Linked DNA regions of Homo sapiens: region 2 is linked to region 1. The links are contacts of gene promoters, found by promoter capture Hi-C in human tissues and cell types (Jung and others, 2019). All regions are on one chromosome and are shown on one strand. Each heading gives the region's core, a stretch centred on a gene start or on the middle of the fragment in contact. The rest is flanking DNA. Distances are from core to core; before and after follow the strand shown. Region 1 holds the start of CDHR1 (cadherin related family member 1). Region 2 overlaps LOC105378399 (a long non-coding RNA gene).

What was found. The method cuts DNA at HindIII sites, captures the fragments that hold promoters and counts their contacts. A contact is called where the count stands out against the background at its distance.
Region 2: a fragment that was not itself captured here is called in contact with the fragment with the promoter of CDHR1 in region 1 in 1 of the 25 tissues and cell types used here (lymphoblastoid cells).

What each region holds. Positions count from the first base shown.
Region 1 is chr10:84,192,902-84,196,021 of GRCh38, forward strand. It overlaps CDHR1 (cadherin related family member 1), which reads left to right and starts at 1,636. Exons shown (of 17, transcript NM_033100.4): 1 at 1,636-1,914; 2 at 2,593-2,688. The coding sequence starts at 1,860. RefSeq lists silencers at 1,532-1,661, 1,732-1,851. The HindIII fragment of the contact is 10,516 bases long and covers 1-3,120 here.
Region 2 is chr10:83,990,137-83,993,256 of GRCh38, forward strand. It overlaps LOC105378399 (a long non-coding RNA gene), which reads right to left. Exons shown (of 4, transcript XR_946148.2): 2 at 2,609-2,761. Among named protein-coding and RNA genes, the nearest start is that of GHITM, 150 kb to the right of the region's middle. RefSeq lists an enhancer at 1-103. The HindIII fragment of the contact is 6,900 bases long and covers 1-3,120 here.

The DNA.
Region 1 (3,120 bases), core at 386-2,885:
CAGAGAAAATCACATTGGGAGAGCAGTGCAGGTCAAATAAGATAATATGGGCAAATATACATAAGCACACATACAGCACATGGCATGTAGGCTACTCCTTCCCCTTCCCTCTCCAGTGCATGGCTGTTGACTGAGGGAACTGAGGAGAGAGAAATCAACGGCCCTAGATTGGTGAGGAGCAGGGCTAACAGGACCCAGGGAGAGCTGGCTTTTCTCGGCCCACCAAGACATCTACTCCAGGAAACCTTGGCTCTGCCTCTGGCTCCTGGGAAATCCACGGCAAGACTCAGTCTCCACATCCCTATATGGGACTTGCAGAATACTTGCCTTAGCTTTGTCCCAGCACTTTGGGAGGCAGATTCAGAACATCTGTGCAATTTAAAGTGTGTCTTTTCAGCAAAAGAGCCAAGCCTAAGGAGACTCAACAAGGGTTTCGGCCAATTAGGCCTGAAAACTGCTGCACATTCTAAAACCATTGATTCATCTTCCTTCTTCTCTGCAAATCCCTGACCCTTGCTCACAGTAGATCATGTAGGGCTAGACCAAGGGATGGGGGGTGCTCTGTTCCCTCAAAGGCCCCTGGCAGGGGGAGGGGGGGAATGCTGAGTCCTCAGCTGTGGAGACCTCTCCCAGGAGCACACAGAGGAGGGATCTCCTCTATCTGAGAACACATCCACCCAAGGGCATCCTGGGAAGTGGCCTGGCTTGGGCTTGAAGTGACCTGTACCCCCATAAATGGCCCAACCAGGAAAAGGAAAACAGGCTGCATTTCCAAGCACCCTCCAGTGTCAGAGCAGGAGAACGAGGAAGCCCAAGGAGCTTTACCAGCAGCCAAAAAGGTTCCTGGGCTTACCTGTGTCTTCAAGTTATCAGCATCCAGGACCCCAATAGCAGTGCCTTGCTTTGTGTAAATACCCTCTAGGAATGAGATCTCGTGCCTCTCGGGCAGTTCAGATCTATCTTGGCCAGCTCTGTGCAAGTCTGTCCTAAGATGGGGCTTAACTCTGCCTTCAGGCCCTTCACTCTTCCTTGGAAGGTTTGAAGAGTGGGTCAGCTGCCCCTTCATGGTCCCAGACTGGGCACTGACTGGGAATGGGGAGCAGAACTGCCTCTCACCCTGGTGGACACCTGAGGGTCCTCCCTGCTGCCCACCACACAGATCAGACCCTTTGGGAGAGGTGGTCCAGCCTGGGGAACAGGGCAGGAATGGGTTGAGATCACAGAGAGGGGGTCCTGATAACCCCTTACCATCTGCTGCCCATCCATCACCCTTTCTCTTTGCCTTTGGTCTCACGCGGCTTATAGAACCTGCTTAGACTGCTAAGGCAAGGCCCTCTCGGCCGCTCCACTAACTTTTCTTCTGGAATGCTTAGCTCAGAGAAGACAGCTAAGCCCCTGAAAGTCACAGAGGAAGTTGATGAGAAAAGAAAACTGCGAAGCCCAAGCCCCACCAGGACTTAAGTACCCTGGGAAAGCCTCAGGACAACTTGGGGGAAAGACACTCCTGTCCCCCATGGTGTCCTCCTGTCCAGGACTGGGGGCCGCCGGCAAAGGGGGCGTGGCGGGCGGGGAGTCCTCTTGTCACGCCCTCCTGCCCCCGCCCGCGGCTGGGAGCCTGTCGCTCCGCTCTGCGCCGCTAATTGGTCTCGTCAGGCGGCCGGCAGGAGCAGATCCGAGCCGTGTCATCCTCTTAGCGCCCTCACGCCACCCGCCGCTCCCGCCCCGTGCCCCCTCCCGCCGCGGCTGCAGTCGCCGCTACCCCCATTGTGGTCTCTGCCCTCCCCGCGGGCCCAGGGCATGCTCCGTGCCCCTGCGCCCGGTCTCGGCGGCGGCAGGCGACACTCCGCGCCGGCGGAGACATGAGGCGCTGCCGGTGGGCCGCCCTGGCCCTGGGGCTGCTGCGCCTCTGCTTGGGTGAGTGGCCGCTGGGCCGCGCTGGCCGCGTGGATGGCGAGGGAGATGGGCGCTGGCGTCACCCAGGTGGCCAGAGGGACATGGTCCTGGACCACTTCCAGAGTGGGACTCGGGCTGGTGGACGGGAGCGGAGAAGTCCTTCCATCTTCCTGGCCCATTCGGTAGTGGGGAGTGGGGTAGCGGAGTAGTGGGGAGCTCCGGGGCGCTTCTCCAGAGCTGGCATCCTAGGGCCCCAGGGTTTGGCGCCCGGACCCCCGCTGCTCTCCGCTTGCTGGGAACCAGAGCTGTAGGCTTGGTGGCAGCTCCGATGCTGCGTGGGGCAGGAGATAGTGCCCTGACTCGCGGCTTGACCTTGGCTGGGCTGGGGCACTGCCCCTCTCCGAGCGCGGGTGCAATCTGCCCATTGATGAAGGAGGGGTTGGATTGCTACCTGGGTTCTAAGCGCCCACATGCTACGTGTCCCTGACAAGCCCGAGCCCACCGGGGGCGGAGTGGGGGTCAGGGGCATCCTCTGGGCGGCGCCCCAGTGGGGTCCCTCGGTGCACTTGGGTTGGGGAGGCGGAGCGCCCTCCTGCCCAGTAGCTGGGCCTGACGCGGGACCGCGCTGGTGCGAAGCTCCCTCCTGGTGTCTGGGTGTCCTTTGCCTGGGTGTCCGTCTGTTCTGTGTTCTTTTTCCAGCTCAGGCCAACTTCGCCCCGCACTTCTTCGACAACGGGGTCGGCAGCACCAACGGAAACATGGCTCTGTTCAGCCTCCCAGAGGACACCCCTGTAGGTGAGTAGCCCTGGCACCTGCTCCCGATAGGTCTCCCTGAGGGGTGCAGGCAGACTTAGAACACAAAGTGCCCCAGGCACCACCCAAGTTGCTGCGCGCGCCCGGGGGCTCCTTGTTTGCTCTCCGAATTCCCCTGGGCAATGGCAGGAAAGAAGGTCATTGCTGCCATGGCGACTTAAGTCTGGCCAGTCCTGGAGACCAGGGCTCCCCCCCACAGACAGGGTCGCCCCGCGAGGCAGGCAGCTACAGCTGCCCCTTATGGCTGTGTGACCTTGAACAAATGTATTTACCTCCCTGAGCCCCAGGTCTCTAGGCTTTAAAACGGCCTAAGAACATCCAACTTGCTGAGATATGCAGAGAGAGGGGAGGAGAAAGGGGAGATTTCACACTCCTTCTCCCTCACTTTGTGGGTAGTGGGAACCCGGGGAAAAG
Region 2 (3,120 bases), core at 442-2,941, 200 kb before region 1:
GGAGAACCCTGATTAATACACCCTGGTTCCAGATCATTGGTCCAGGAGTGACTCAAGATAAGCAAGTCGGACATCTTTCTTCAGGAAATTTCAATTTGGAACTGAGAACATTCAGTCTGGTCCAATCCATTGAAAAGAGGAAATGAAAATCCAAGTGCTATGTTGAGGGCTTACCACGGTTTCTACCATGTGACCTGGTGGCAGACAAGGCCTGACCACAAAGAAAGAGGAATGAGGTGGCCTTCAGGGGTGAGGAAGGTGGACAAGGTCTGCAAACACTGTGGGCAACTCTGCTTCTAGTTCCCATTCATTCCTGAGGGCTGGCCGTCTCTCTGTCCTGTGCCCTCCTAGACCAATCTGTGTGCTTTTAACAAATCTCCCCTTTTATGCTTAAAGAAGATCTTGTCGATTCCTTTTCCATGGAACTGAAAGAACCCTAACTATTCAGGGTCATCTGATCAAAGCAGGTCTGGAGCTTCCTAGTGGTCTAGTTTCAGAAATACAACATGAATCCTGGGGAGGTTTGAGGACTGAATAATGAACACATCCTCCAGTTTTTCCCCTCCCAAGTGCCAGTGATCTCTTCTTTCAATTTGAAAGAAACCGAAAAACTATTCTAAAGTAAGTCTCAGGCAAGAATCGGAAGAGCCAGAAATCTATGTTCTTAGCTGAAGAGCTCAGAGGGCTGAAGCAGAAGGATGGCTTGAGCCCAGGAGTCTGAGGCTATAGCGTGCTGTAATCGTGCCTGTGAATAGCCACTGCATGCCAGCCTGAGCAACACGGCAAACCCTATCCCTTAAAAAAATAATAAAAATAGGCCCAACGTGGTGGCTCATGCCTGTAATCCCAACACTTTGGGAGGCCAAGGCAGGCAGATCACCTGAGGTCAGGAGTTCAAGACCAGCCTGGCCAACATGGTGAAACCCCCTCTCTACAGAAATACAAAAATTACCCGGGCATGACGCAGGTGCCTGTAATCCCAGCTACTCGGGAGGCTGAGGCAGGAGAATCGCCTGGACCCAGGAAGCAGAGGTTGCAGTGAGCCGAGATCACGCCATTGCACTCCAGCCTGGGTGACAGAGCAAGACTCCGTCTCAAAAAAAAAAAATAATAATAATAATAATAATAGCCACACATAGTGGCCTACACCTGTTATCTCAGCTACTTGGGGGACTGAAGTACGAGGATTGCTTGAGCCCATGAGTTTGAGACCAGTCTGGGAAACACAGGAAGACCCCAACTCAAAAAAAAAAAAAATTTAGGCCAGGCATGGTGGCTCACACCTAAAAATCCCAGCACTTTAGGTGGCCAAAGCAGGAGGATCCCTTGATGCCATGAATTCAAGGCCAGCCTGAGCAACATAGCAAGTCCCCATCTCTACCAAAAAAAAAAAAATTAGAGCAAAAATATAGACATAAAGCAAGAACGTTCATGTGGGGCCACACAACAGCATGGGGTTTAAGGCCTAACAATAAGATTCAATATTAATTGCTGCCTTGATACATGGCAAAACTGGGAGGGCCTGGAATGTCCTAACCACAAGTTCTCCTCTTCCTTCACACCATGGATAAGAATCCCTTGGCCGGGCACAGTGGCTTACGCCTGTAATCCCAGCACTTTGGGAGGCCGAGACAGGCAATCACGAGGTCAGGAGTTCGAGACCAGCCTGGCCAACATGGCAAAACCCCGTCTCCTACTAAAAATACAAAAATTAGCCAAGCGTGGTGGTGTGCACCTATAATCCCAGCTACTCAGGGGGCTGAGGCAGGAGAATCACTTGAACCTGTGAGGCGGAGTTTGCAGTGAGTCAAGATCACACCACTGTACTCCAGCCTGGGCAACAGAGCAAGATTCCATCTCAGAAAACAAAAAAACAAAAAACAAACAACAAAAAAAAAGAATCCCTTGCCAAAAGACCCTTATCACCAAATGGACCAGGTGCAGCTCCTCCTTATCCCTGCGTGGGTAGTCTTAGTTCCCTCCCAGCCCATAAAACATTTCAGACAAACTAACCACTTCCCCTGTGGGAAGCAGGAGTCCCCCTATCCTCTTGATACCACAGAGCCTGCCTCCCACAGCCTCTGTTCCCAAGTTCAACTCCGTTGTGGCCCTGTGTGGCACAGTGTCTTTCTCCCCAGGCCATGAGTGTGTGTGATAAATAAACTAGTCTCAACCTCATCTGTCCAGTGCTGGGCTGTTTGTCATGTGTTTGACTATCCCTATAACCCTAGGATTGTTCCCCCGTGGGATGAATGGGAAGCAATTCAAACACAGCAGCACAGAGATGGGCCAGAGGAGGGCCTGTGTAGGTAACATGCACTTACACAGACAGGAGTAAGAGCCTTCTCTGCAAGGAACACCCCACCCCCACCCCACCACCCCAGGCTCCCAAGGACGTGGGAAAATTCACTCTGAGAGCAATGGGGCATGCCTGAAGCCGCTTGCCAGTTATAGCACCACCTGCTGGGGTCTTGTGCAAAGTGATCTATTGAGAATGGCAAGGTCCAGCCATCAAATGGTTACTAGACCATTAACTTCAGCATAACCTATATAGAAGAAATGATCGCCAACCTACGCAGAGGTTCTCATGTTAACATTCAATACTTACTTATTGAAAAGGTTTTTTAAAATGCTCAGCCAAATGAGAGCAGGCAAACTGTTTTTCTTCTAATTACAGCCACGTGCATCTTTTTCTTAGTTAATTTTCTCAGCTCTGATGATTGTCTTCAGTGGGTTCTTGACTCAATCTAAGTGAGTTCATCTGTAAAACAGGGATGATAATAGCACCTACTATACGGGGCTACAATAATAGCTGCATAGCACTTAGAGCAGCTTCAATACACACAAGATCTTAGTAAGAATTAGAGAAACATTTTTTTTTTCTTTTAAGTGGAACCTTGACTGTTCCTGACCTTTGAGAATGTCTACTCAGTGAAACCTCCACAGAGGTACAATCCATCCAGGAAGACAAGGATAACTCAAATGAATTGATGAGAGAACAAGACTACATAATGCATGATCGAAAGTGTTAAAATGTGCAGAACTGACAATCTTTCCAAACAGACAAGGGGGAGAAAAAGAATAGCATGGGCTTGGCCTGCCAGCTAAGTTTTAGAGAAA